Regions from separate parts of the Homo sapiens genome. Here region 1 is linked to region 2. The links are contacts of gene promoters, found by promoter capture Hi-C in human tissues and cell types (Jung and others, 2019). All regions are on one chromosome and are shown on one strand. The core of a region is centred on a gene start or on the middle of the fragment in contact, and the rest is flanking DNA. Distances in the headings are between cores, read along the strand shown.

What was found. The method cuts DNA at HindIII sites, captures the fragments that hold promoters and counts their contacts. A contact is called where the count stands out against the background at its distance.
Region 1: a contact is called between a fragment that was not itself captured here and the fragment with the promoter of DOCK6 in region 2, in 1 of the 25 tissues and cell types used here (spleen).

Annotation. Positions count from the first base shown.
Region 1 is chr19:11,447,160-11,453,842 of GRCh38, forward strand. PRKCSH (PRKCSH beta subunit of glucosidase II) reads left to right here. Exons shown (of 18, transcript NM_001289104.2): 10 at 1; 11 at 280-459; 12 at 534-630; 13 at 1,063-1,132; 14 at 1,381-1,470; 15 at 1,755-1,829; 16 at 1,917-2,016; 17 at 2,107-2,269; 18 at 3,487-3,809. The coding sequence ends at 2,253. ELAVL3 (ELAV like RNA binding protein 3) reads right to left here. Exons shown (of 7, transcript NM_001420.4): 7 at 4,167-6,683. Among named protein-coding and RNA genes, the nearest start is that of PRKCSH, 15 kb to the left of the region's middle. RefSeq lists enhancers at 4,953-5,002, 5,033-5,152, 5,077-5,847. The HindIII fragment of the contact is 3,843 bases long and covers 1-3,262 here.
Region 2 is chr19:11,261,116-11,267,215 of GRCh38, forward strand. It overlaps DOCK6 (dedicator of cytokinesis 6), which reads right to left and starts at 1,409. Exons shown (of 48, transcript NM_020812.4): 1 at 1,282-1,409. The coding sequence starts at 1,325. RefSeq lists silencers at 984-1,123, 1,204-1,263, 1,334-1,493. The HindIII fragment of the contact is 27,433 bases long and covers 1-6,100 here.

The DNA.
Region 1 (6,683 bases), core at 91-2,590, 190 kb after region 2:
GGTCAGTGGAGGAGAAGGGAGGGGACTTGGTCCTCCCACCACACTGCCCCCACCCCGCCTCACAAAGGAGCTGCCTCTGGTTCTGGCACCTGGCCACCCTGGCCAGCTGGGTGGCCCCAGCACCCCCCACCGAGACCCCCCGACCCCAGCTGTCGGTCCTCCCTGCAGGCCCCGCAGGAGGGGCAGAGACACCGAGGCTGCCCCTTGGGCTGTGGTGTGAGCCTGAGGGTGTGGGTGGACCCTGAGTCCACAACACCGACCGCACTGCTCACCCGCCAGGCACTGCCCACCGACCTTCCAGCACCTTCTGCCCCTGACTTGACGGAGCCCAAGGAGGAGCAGCCGCCAGTGCCCTCGTCGCCCACAGAGGAGGAGGAGGAGGAGGAGGAGGAGGAGGAAGAAGAGGCTGAAGAAGAGGAGGAGGAGGAGGATTCCGAGGTGCAGGGGGAGCAGCCCAAGGTCCGTGTTTGGGGGAGAAGTGGAGACAGAGAGGGTGGGGGAAGGGCTACTCACTGACCCTGCCCCTGCCCCAGGAGGCCCCACCGCCACTGTCACCCCCGCAGCCGGCCAGCCCTGCTGAGGAAGACAAAATGCCGCCCTACGACGAGCAGACGCAGGCCTTCATCGATGGTGAGGGTGGGCGGGGGCCAGGCTCCTCGGGTGGGCCCAGCGTTTCCTGCCGTGGTGGCACAGGTCGAGGGAAGATCCTGAGCTTAGACCCTGCTCTGACTCGGCCAGCACAAGCCCCAGTATCTTGGGGAGTCCAGGAAGGGGGCCTAGGGTAAGCCAGTCCCACCCTCGCCAGCCCCAAGGGGCCCTTCTGCCTCCCCAAGGGCCGCAGCTTGTTTGTGTCACTCCTGGCCCCACTCGCTCAGGAGCTGGGAGCCTGGGCAGCAAGTCGGGGCTGCTCTATAGCTGGTGAGGCCCTCAAGGCTGTCGGGGTGAAGTCCTTGGCCAGAGCAAAATGAGGGTATGGGAGCACACAGCCACATCCATGGAACCCCGTTCCCCATCCTCCTGGATGGGGTTGAGGACATCTCTGACCTCCAACCCCTCTCCCAGCTGCCCAGGAGGCCCGCAACAAGTTCGAGGAGGCCGAGCGGTCGCTGAAGGACATGGAGGAGTCCATCAGGTAGCGGGGGCTGAGGAGCGGGGACACCTGTCCCACAGCGACTGCTCCTTGACTCCCAGGGGAGCTGGTGATGGGGAATCACTGAGGCAACCACAGGCTGGGCCTGGTCCCTGCAGGGAGGGTCCCTGGGAGGTGGCAGGGAGGACAGCCTGGGCACCATTGCTCAGCCAGACCCTCCTGTGTCTGTCGTCCTGGGTCAGGCACTGGCGTCCCCAGCTGCCCCTTAACCGCTCCGCCTCCCCTTCCAGGAACCTGGAGCAAGAGATTTCTTTTGACTTTGGCCCCAACGGGGAGTTTGCTTACCTGTACAGCCAGTGCTACGAGCTCACCACCAACGAGTGCGTCCCAGGAATGCAGGGGCCCCCACTGGCAGGGTGGGAGGCGGGTGGCCCCGGAAGTGGCACCGGCAGTTTCCTGATGGTTGGGGAACCATCTGCGGGTGGGGCCCGAGAGTGCTGCCTTCCATATTGAGGGGGAGCAGAAGCCAGGGGCCAGGTTTAGGGTTGGTCATTGGAGTTGGAGGTACCCTGTGTGTGGGGACTGGAGGAGGCGGTGGGGGGTGGCTGTGGGAGGAGGCTGGAATCCCTGCGTTCCCCAACCCATATGTCCCGGTCCTCCACAGATACGTCTACCGCCTCTGCCCCTTCAAGCTTGTCTCGCAGAAACCCAAACTCGGGGGCTCTCCCACCAGCCTTGGGTGAGTGGCTTGGGCTGGCCCCTTCCCTCTGCCTCCTCCTGGTGCCCCGACACCGGCCCAGCCCTCAGCACCCTGTGTCTCTCACAGCACCTGGGGCTCATGGATTGGCCCCGACCACGACAAGTTCAGTGCCATGAAGTATGAGCAAGGCACGGGCTGCTGGCAGGGCCCCAACCGCTCCACCACCGTGAGTGCCTGCAAGGCAGGGGAGCTGGGGCGGGGAGACCCAGGCCTGGCCCAGCCGAACCCTCTCGAGCACCCGTCTGCCCATCCCCAGGTGCGCCTCCTGTGCGGGAAAGAGACCATGGTGACCAGCACCACAGAGCCCAGTCGCTGCGAGTACCTCATGGAGCTGATGACGCCAGCCGCCTGCCCGGAGCCACCGCCTGAAGCACCCACCGAAGACGACCATGACGAGCTCTAGCTGGATGGGCGCAGAGGTGGGCGGGGAGGTGGAGTCTCGTCGGCCTGCCCCAGCAAGGGGAGGCGGCGGGCCCTGAGGAAGATGGACCCACATGGCCACTCTATCAACCTGTGTCCCCATGTTCCCTGCTTTTTTGTTTTGTTTTTTTGAGGTGGAGTCTCACTCTTTGGCCCAGGCTGGAGTGCAGTGATGCGACCTCAGCTGACTGCAACCTCTACCTCCCGGGTTCAAACAATTGTCTTGTCTCAGCCTCCCAAGTAGCTGGGATTACAGGTGTGCACCACCATGCCTGGCTAATTTTTAGTAGAGATGGGGTTTCACCATGTTGGCCTGGATGGTCTCGAACTCCTGACCTCAGATGATCCACCTGCCTTGGCCTCCCAAAGTGCTGGGATTACAGGCATGAGCCACCACACCCGGCCATCTCCTGCCTTTTTTTTTTTGGATGGAGTTTCACTCTTGTTGCCGAGGCTGGAATGTGGAATGCAATGGCGCGATCTCGGCTCACTGCAACCTCCACCTCCTGGGTGCAAGCAATTCTCCTGCCTCAGCCTCCTGAGTAATTGGGACTACAGGCGCCGCCACCACGCCTGGCTAATTTTTTTGTATTTTTAGTAGAGATGGGGTTTCCCTGTGTTAACCAGGTTGGTCTCGATCTCCTGACCTCGTGATCCGCCCTCCTCAGCCTCCCAAAGTGCTGGGATTACAGGCTTGAGCTACCATGTCTGGCCATCCCCTGCTTTTTAAAAAAAGATTTTTTTACTTTTGAAACTAAATAGGCCAGGCGTCGTGGCTCACATCTGTAATCCCAGCACTTTGGGAGGCTGAGGTGGGCGGATCACTTGAGGTCAGGAGGTTGAGACCAGCCTGACCAACATGGTGTAAAACCCCATCTCTACTAAAAATACAAAAAAATTAGCTGGGTGTGGTGGTAGGTGCCTGTAGTTCCAGCTGCTCAAGAGGCTGAAGCACAAGAATCACTTGAACCCAGGAGGTAGAGGTTGGAGTGAGCCAAGATCATGCTACTGCACTCTCCAGCCTGGGCTACAGAGTGAGACTCTCAAAAAAAAAAAATAATAATAATAAGAGAAAATAGACAAGGTCTCCAGGCTGGTCAACTCCTGGCCTCAAATGATCCTCCCACCTCAGCCTCCCAAGCAGCCGGGACTACAGGCAAACATCACCATGTCCAGCTGTCCCCAGCTTTCTAATCTGGTCTTTCTCTTGCCCCAGAACCTCAAGAAGGCATGAAGCCAGCCCCTGCAGTGCCGTCCACCCGCCCCTCTGGGCCTGCCTGTGGCTCTGTTGCCCTCCTCTGTGGCGGCAGGACCTTTGTGGGGCTTCGTGCCCTGCTCTGGGGCCCAGGCGGGGCTGGTCCACATTCCCAGGCCCCAACAGCCTTCAAAGATGGGTAAAGGAGCTTGCCCTCCCTGGGCCCCCCACCTTGGTGACTCGCCCCACCACCCCCAGCCCTGTCCCTGCCACCCCTCCTAGTGGGGACTAGTGAATGACTTGACCTGTGACCTCAATACAATAAATGTGATCCCCCACCCAAACTTGTCTGTGTCTGCCTCGCTTTGCTGGGGTGTGGACCGGGGTGTGGGCAGGGGTTGAGCGCAGGGGACGCAGCTTTCTGCAGATCCCACCCGGGCCTCCCCCACCATCTGGGGATCACTCCTGAAGATACCAGGTGGATGGACCCTGGACCATTTCTGTCTTGAGCATCCATCCGGGCCCGTGTCCCACCTTCCCTGGGTCTCATCTGTGCTCTGTGGAGGCCAAGGGTTCCCTCCCGGGGCCAAAGCCCCTGCTGCAGACAGACCCAGGCCCAGAGAAGGACGGGGGCCTGGGCGCTACTACACAGGCTGCTCCTGCGTGCTCCCCGCGCAGCGGTGCAGAGATCACCCAAGGCCTTAAGATTCTGAACTTTTATTTTCTGGCATGAAAAGTACAAATAATTAAACAATTCCATGTAAAAGTCTGTTACCGCGGCCAGGCCTGTGATCCCGGTAATAAATAGTCTAAACGCAACGCGAAGTGTTCTTGTTGGGTTTTTTTTTTTTTTTTGTCTTTTGTTTTGTCTTTTTTTTTTTTTTTTTTTTTACAGTTTTTTATCACCTCCAACATGGACTCTGTCGTGATTTGAAACCTTCCGAATAAATAACAGGATGAAGGGAGGGGTGGAGGGGCTGAGCCCCCTCCCCCCTGGCCTGGCCCCTGCCCCCCAGGGACGTGGAAGCCCCAAGTCCCCCTCGCCTGGGAGCCCCGGCCTGGCCCCCTGCGGGGAGGGGCTGGCCTCCAGGGAGGGGGCCTGGCTGGGCTGAGTTTTGTGTTTTAGAAAAAGAAGTCCCCTCCCAGTCTTGGGGGTGGCAGGGGCCTAGGCCTCGGTGGGGGGGGGGTGTGTGGGGAGGTGCCCCCTCTCTGGAGCCTGGCCCCCCCCAGGGTGGGGGACAAACCCAGCCCTTATTGCTCGGACGCCCTGCTGCAAGCTTCCCACGCGGACGTGCGTGTTCCCGAATGCAGAGGGCGGAGGGGAGAGAGCCCCAAGAGACAGCAGGGGAGAGGGGTCCCTGCCCTGCTGCAGGGGAGAGGAGAGAGGGCAGGGAGGACTTAAAACCACGAGAATAAATAGGTTCGTGTATCAAGAACAAGCTAGGGATTTCACCAGCTAAATAGGACTGAAAAAATTCTCAAGACAAGAGCAAAAAGAATCCCATTGGTGACCTGGACGTCGCTGGCCGTGGGGACTGTCCCGCAGAGCACACGCCCCCGCGTGCCACTCGGCTACCATTACTGTTATTAATAATTATTATTACTTTAATGATTCCACTTCCCCTTTTATAAATAAATTAGGCATAACCATGTCTCGGCAAAACTTAAAGAAACAAAGAGAACATTGTCGTTCCTTTAACTTGCAAACCGGATGAAGTAACAGAAATATACACGGATGTCCTTACAGGGCAACGAGGAGAATAAATAGTTAACATAGCAATAAGTTAAAACTACAAGAAGCTAAATTCAGCAAAAAAGTACAAGAAAGTTAACTGGTGCCAGTTTATGTCTTTTTTTTTTTTCCTTTTTTTTTTTTAAATCTCTTCTGTGTGTTTTCTTTTTTTGTTGCTTTTTTTTCCTCTTCTGTTTGTGTTTTTTTGTCGCTTTTTTGATTTTTTTCTTTTTTGTTCCTTGCAGCAGAAGCTCCACAGACGTTTAATAACAACACCGGGAGGGGTGGGGGAGAGAGAGCTGGACAGTCAGATGGGGGCGCCATAGCCAGACACCAAACGTGGGGACACCGGGGGAAGGCAACTTAACTATAGCTAAAGTCGGGGGTTTTGCAATTCTCAGTTCCGATGGGGCCGCTGAGTGGGGTGGGGAGCGGTGCGAGGGCTCCCAGGGGCTCCGGCCTGTGGCTTCTGTTGGAATTTTTTTTTTTTAAAGAAAGAAAACTAGGGCGATGCAATGTCCAGACAGAAGCCGGGGGCCGGGGCTCGAGATCGGGGGCTGTGTCCACTGCAATCTGGAAAGACGAAAAACCCAACAAACCGAAAGGGGATAGGTAGGTGACAAGTGGACGGGAAAGGAGTGTGGGGCTGGGCCTTTGGGCCCATCCACCCCACCCTGGGCCTGGCGGGGAGTGCCGGGGTCTTGCTGCCGGGGAGGCCCAGTCCTGGTGGGGGAGGCTCAGGGCTGGGCCTCTCCCTCAGCTGTGTGGGCCAAGGCCTCGGCCCAGGGGGAGGCTGAGCCCCGGGGACAGGGGTGTCCTTTGGCCTCAAGTGTTGTGGGGGGGGGGGCTGCCTCCAGCCCACCGTGACGCCAAGGTGGAACGAGGTATCGTGTGTCTCAATGCATGTGCGCTGCGTGTGCACGCCTGTGTTCGTGGGCGCCAAGGAGACCGCTGGGGGTCCAGGAGAGATCTCTGCAGAGAACCTGGGGGCCAGGGCGAGGGGGCCGAGAGGGTGAGGGAGCGTCTGGGGCAGGGTCTGGGGTGGGACCTCCTGCCTGGGCCTGTGGGATGCTATGGGCATATGTCTGCGTGTTCCTGGGTGGTGTTTGTGTTTCTCCGTGACCTGGTGTCCAAATTTGATGTCCAAATATCTATCGCTACATTCACGTGTGCACGTGGACAGGTGGATGGATTCGTGTGCCCACATCTGTGGTCTGTGTCCACATGGACGTAGCCCCAGCTTCTGTCTCTTTCTGTCTATCCCTGTCCACGTGTCTGAGTTTGGCCAACCAGTCCCTTAACGTGTCTGGGGCATGTCGCTGTGTCCGTCTGCGTCTGTCCGTGTGTCCCCGTGGTGTGACTGTCTGCGTGGTTGTTTCTCTGTGTGGCCCCGTGGGCTGCTAGCCCCTAAGCCCTGCTCCCTGGGCCCCCCCCACCCCCGCCCCAGTTGGTAAACATAACCTGCCAAAATATTTTCTTTTTTTTT
Region 2 (6,100 bases), core at 159-2,658:
CCAAAGTCAAAGTCCCTTGCACAGCCCACACGACCCTGTACATTCTACTCTTACTGTCCCCCTCCAGCTCTCTGTTCCTGCCTCAGGGCCTTTGCACAAACCCTTCCCACTCTTTCCCCCCACAAACTGGCCTCGATCGATCCCTCTCTCATCTCCTTGAGGTTTTTGCTCAAAGGCACCTGCTCATCCAGGCCTTCCTGACCCACCTCCCGCATCTCAAGCAGCCCCCACCCTCCCATCCCCCTTCCCTGTCTTCTTGTCCCTACAGCACTTGTCACTGACAGGTAATCTACTCGATCAGGCTTCTGGTCTCTCTCCGCCACTATATCCCAAGAGGGGGATCTTTTGTCTCCATAAGACCAGGGCCCAACCCACAGGGCAGCTCTTTCACCTGGGGGCAGTCAGGACAGGTCCCCCGGGGAGAGGATACCTGAGCTTCTGAACGCACCCTTGTCGCAAAGACCCCCCGCCAACTGGGGGCGAGGCTTTTCAGCCCCAGAGAGTCTGATATACCCCTCCCAGGCTGTGACTCTCACAATCCCCAGTGGCCACGGAAATGGATCCCCCAGCGCCTGGGGCCTGTCCCCTCCCCCGTCTGCCCACCAGCTGGTTCTGTCCCCAGCCCCCACTCCCTCCATTCAATCACCCATCCATCCCCAGCGCGGTCCAGCCCGTGACGGGAGAGCCTGAAGCAGAAGGTGGGGGGGCGTCCACAGCTGTCCCCCTTCCCCCCCCCCGACAGCTGGGCACTGGACCCTGGAGGGGGAAGGGCACGGGAAACTCCTCGAGGGGTTTCAAACGCCACCAAGGAGCCCATCTCTGTCCCCAAATCTCAGAGCCTGGAGCCTCCCTGCCCCAAACCAGGCACTGAGGAAGGAACAGAAAGTCCGGCCCACCCCGATCTCCGAGAGCGCGGGGACAGTGAGGGGCCGAGAGGCGGACGGGGAGCGCAGGGAGTTCAGGGGGCGCCCGTCATCCGCATCCCCACGCCACCTCCTCCGGGAAGCCCTCCGGACACACCCCCGCGCGTCACGGAGGCAGAACGGCAGCCGCCATCGCGCTCCCAGCCCCGACGCGACTCCCATCTGGGACCCCCGCCGGGACCCCCGCGGCCCTCCCCGCCTTCTCCCGCTCCCAGCCCCGGCCGGAGGAAGCTGGCGGGACCCGGGCCGAGGCGGAAAGGGGTTGAATTGGGGGCGCCCGGGCGGGGAGGGTCGCACCGCCCCGGGGCGGAGCCGGGCCACGTGGGGGAGGTGGGAGGGGGCCCCGCGGCCACACTACCTGTTGATCTTGTGCGCGAAGGCGCGGCGCTCGGAGGCAGCCATGGTCCTCGCGTCCCGCCGCCGCCGCCCCGGGCCCCGGCCCCGCCGCCGCCGCCGCCTCCCGGTTCTGGGCAGCCGGGGCGGGGCGGGGCCGGCGCGGGGGCGGGGCCCTTCCGGGTGGCCCGGGCCGCTCCGTGCTGCCCCTGCAGGCCGGAGGGGTCGCCTGGAGTCCTGGGGGCTGGGGAAACTGAGGCTGGGGACGGAGAGGAGGCCCCGGGATCCAGGCTGGGCGGGCCCCAGACTCCCGGGCTGGGGGGACGCTCTTTCTACCCTAGGAGAAGGGCTGGGGAAACTGAGGCTGAGGAGGGAAGTTAGGGAGAGGAGGCGCTGGGACCCAGACTGGGGGTGCCCCAGACTCCCGAGCTGGCGGGGGCGCTCTTTCCACCCTGGGAGCTGGGCTGGAGAAACTGAGCCTGAGGAGGGAGGGAGGGAAGGGAGGCGCTGAGACCCGGGCTAGGTGGACCCCAGGCTCCCGGGGTTTAGTGGGGTGGTCTTACCACCCCAGGAGCAGGGCTGGGGAAACTGAAGCTCAGGAGGGAGGGAGGGAGGGGAGGCGCTGGGACCCAGGCTGGGTAGGCCCCAGATTTCCGGGGTTTGGGGGGCGCTCTTTCTGCCCTCTGACTCCTGGCTGGAAAACAATAACGATGTTCATGTATCTAATAATCATACCTGTAAGTATAATCGTGGCCGTGCATGGTGGCTCATGCCTGTAATCCCAGCACTGTGGGGGGCCAAGGCAGGAGGATTGTTTGAGCCCAGGAGTTGGAGACCAGCCTGGGCAACATAATGAGACCCCGTGTCCACAAAAAATGCAAAAATTAACCAGGCATGGTGGTGTGTGCCTGTAATCTCAGCTACTTGGGAGTCTGAGGGAGGAGGATCGCTTGAGCCTGGGAGGTCAAGGCTGCAGTGAGCTGTGATTGTGCCATTTCAATCCAGCCTGGGTGACAGAGCGAGACCCTGTCTCAAAAAGTCTAATTGCTAAGATGTCATTGAGCCTGGCCCTGCAATTCACACATGCAGAAGAAATTATTGTTTTCCTCCTTTTACAGATGAGTAAACTGAGGCACAGAGGTGTTCGGGTGCTTGCTCAGTGTGACTCACAGGGGTCTCCAGCGCCTGCATTGTCCGTGCTCCCAGTCTACAGCATGGGAGTCAGAGGAGCCTGGCTAGGCACTGGAGTGCTCGGAGATGTGCCCCAGGTCCAGGTGGTGGGACCTGAGTGAGCCAGTTTGGGAGTCTAGACTTTCGGGGCCGCCTCTACCAAGAGGAAGAGGTGGGGATGTCTTGGTTAATCTATGGTCTCAAATCTCTCCCCACTGGCCTCTCTCCCAGCACTGCTGCAGCATTTTTAGAGAATTCTCCAGCCGACACTCCCCTCTGGAGGAGCTCACCCCTTTCTCACCTGCATGCCTCTGCACCGGCAGGTCCTTCCTCCTGGACAGCCCTTCTTTCCCTGGTCAGCAAATGCCCCAGGGAGAATTTGAGGTTGAATCAGACAAGGCCGTGGCTCTGCCTCAGGGCCTTTGCACGTGCTGTTCTCATTCCCATCTATGGGTTGCTGGCATTTTATCCTCTATTATTTATTTATTTATTTATTTATTTATTTATTTATTTATTTATTTATTTTGAGGTGGCATTTCGCTCTTGTTGCCCAGACTGGAGTGCAATGGCACAATCTCGGCTCACCGCAACCTCTGCCTCCCAGGTTCAAGCGATTCTCCTGCCTCAGCCTCCCGAGTAGCTGGGATTACAGGCACCCACCATCACACCTGGCTAATTTTTTGTATTTTTAGTAGAGACGGGGTTTCACCATGTTGGCCAGGCTGGTCTGGAGCTCCTGACCTCAGGTGATCCACCCGCCTCGGCCTCCCAAAGTGCCGGGATTACAGGAATGAGCCACATGCCCACCCTGAGTCACCATGCACCCCCGAGACACAGTTTCTTGCCTTGCTGCCCAATGAATCCATGTCAGACCTTGAACCCACAGGAAAGAGGCCTGGATTGTAGGGGAACCCCCAAACCCTGCCAGTCAGACGCAGGATAGCATCCTGCTAGTCAGGCCGCAGTAGGGCTGCTCACAGCCTGGCATGTGACATGTGCACACAGCCCACGTGCCTGCCCGGAGTGGTCCAGCCACTTTGGCCAGGTGGAGCTCCGCCCATCACTCCCCGCCATGCCCCACCAAGTGTCCCCGCCTTGCCTCTCAGGCTGCTGGGAGCTAGGCTGGGCAGGAAATATGCAGATGAGCGAAGATTTGCACATTTCTTAGCCTAGTTCCAGTCCAGCCCCCTTTATATCCGGTCTCCCAGCTTCCTTTCTCATCCTCCCCCCAGCTTGTTCCTGCATCAGTGGCCAGGAAGAGCCTGGGAACACCTGCATCACTTCAGTTCCCTCCTCTGTTCAGAACCTTCCATGGCTCCCACCTCACTCAGGGTAAAAGCCAAAGTCCTCCCACAACCCGCCGGGCACAGTGGCTCCCTGTCATCCTGGCACTTTGGGAGGCCGAGGCGGGTGGATCACTTGAGGTCAGGAGCTCCAGACCAGCCTGGCCAACATGGCAAAACCCCGTCTCTACTAAAAATACAAAAAATAGCCGGGCATGGTGGTGGGAGCCTGAATCCCAGCTACTCGGGAGGCTGAGGCATGAGGATCGTCTGAACCCAGGAGGTGGAGGTTGTAGTGAGCTGAGATTGCGCCACTGCACTCTAGCCTGGGCGAGAGTGAGACCCTGTCTCAAAACAACAACAACAACAAAACAACCAACAAACAAAACCAAAGTCCTCCCACAACCCACAAGGCCCAGCATGATCAACCCTGTCACCTCCCTGGCTTGCCTCTTCCTTTTCTTTCCCTCATTCACTCCACTCCAGCTGCCCCTGCCTCCTGGATGCTTCTCTAAACACCAGGACACAGCTCCACTCAAGGACCTTTGCATGTTCTGTTCCCTTTCCCACATATGGGCGTTGCCAGTAGCCCCCTTTTACAGATAAGGAAACTGAAGAACACCCAGAGAGGGGACTCGCCCTAATGTAGCCTAGTGAATCAGTGTCAGATCCAAGATTTGACTCCAGGGAGCCTGATCCCAAAGCGGTTGTCTCTAAAGTCTCACTGGGTCTCCATCAGACCTGGCTGTGTGACCCAGGATAAATTGCTCAACTTCTCTGAGCCCCAGTTTCCTTGTTTGCTCCCTGAGAGTTCGTGGTTGGTCACAGCTTGAGACCCAGACATCAGGAGGTAGGTTGAGCCATGGAGCAGCAAACTTCAGGGCCTTGTCAGGGCCCATTCCCTGTCGAAGCCCAAGGGGGTTTTGAGCTCAGCGACTCCATGTCCTGCCTTGGTGGAAACGCTGCTTCAGAGATTGCTCCAATCAAAGGCCCTACCCCAGATGCCTCGAGCACAGTACCCGCCCCAGTGCCTGCCAGACCTGACTGGTGAGGCTATTTCTCTCCAGAGCACCACCAGCCCTGACTCAGCTGGGTGTGGCTGGGGTGCCCCTGACAGCTGATCAAACAGAGGCTGAGCGTGGTGGCGGGGACTTTGGCCTCCTCTGCTCTACTGCGTGGAGAACACGTTGCGGACATGAGGCTGGAGCTGGTGGACCAGGGAGGAGGGGCTGTACTGGTCCAGGTTAGGGATGATAGGCCTGGATGGGGTGAGGATACAGGGGAGGTGAGAAGTCGGTGGGCTCTGAGCAGATGGCTCACTGGTGGCTGGACAGTGAGTCCATCTGCAAGTTAGAGTAAGAGAGGAGTCAAAAACCGTCTCCTTCACCCACGCTGCTGCCTAATGCTGCTCCCTCCACGTGGAATGCTGTTCCATCCACTCCTCGTCTGCCTGCACCCTTCTTTGTCCCTTATATCTCAGCTTGGACATCCCTGCCTTTGCCCGCTGCCTCCGCCATGGAGGCCCCAGTCACGCCCCAGTTGCTGGGTTACCTTTCTCTGTGGGGTTCCCAGCACCTGACATTTAGTAGGAGCTCCATAAATACTGACTTTTTGGTTTTGCTCTTTTTTTTTTTTTTTTTTTTTGAGACAGGGTCTCACTCTGTTGTCCAGGCTGGAGTGCAGTGGCTCCAATATGGCTCACTGCAGCCTCCTCCTCCCAGGCTCAAGCAACCTTCATACCTCAGTCCCCAACTCTGGGACTACAGGCATGCACCACTATGGCCAGCTAATTTTTCTGATTTTTTTTGTAGAGACAGGGGTCTCACTATGTTGCCTAGGCTGGTCTCAAACTCTTGGCCTCAAGAGATGCTGCCAACTTGGCCTCCCACAGTGCTGGGATTACAGACGTGCCCTCTTTTGTTTTCCTGATCTGCTGCTCAGAGCTTGTCCCCGACCTCGCTGTTGGAATCACTGTAGCATCATAATATGCTTCTGTATCTTTCTGTGCTGGGTGCAGCTGCCTCCAGACCTTTGCACAGGCCATCCCCTCTGCCCAGAACATGGTTCCCGGACTCCTTACCTTAACAGACTTTTTTTTTTTGGAGACAGAGTTTTGCTCCTGTTGCCCAGGCTGGAGTGCAATGGCATGATCTCGGCTCACTGCAACCTCCGCCTCCCAGGTTCAAGCAATTCTCCTGCCTCAGCCTCCCAAGTAGCTGGGATTACAGGCATGCGACACCACGCTCGACTAATTTTGCATTTTTAGTAGAGATGGGGTTTCTCCATGTTGGTCAGGCTGGTCTTGAACTCCTGACCTCAGCTGATCCGCCCGCCTCGGCCTCCCAAAGTGCTGGGATTACAGGTGTGAGCCACTGCGCCCTGCCACCTAAA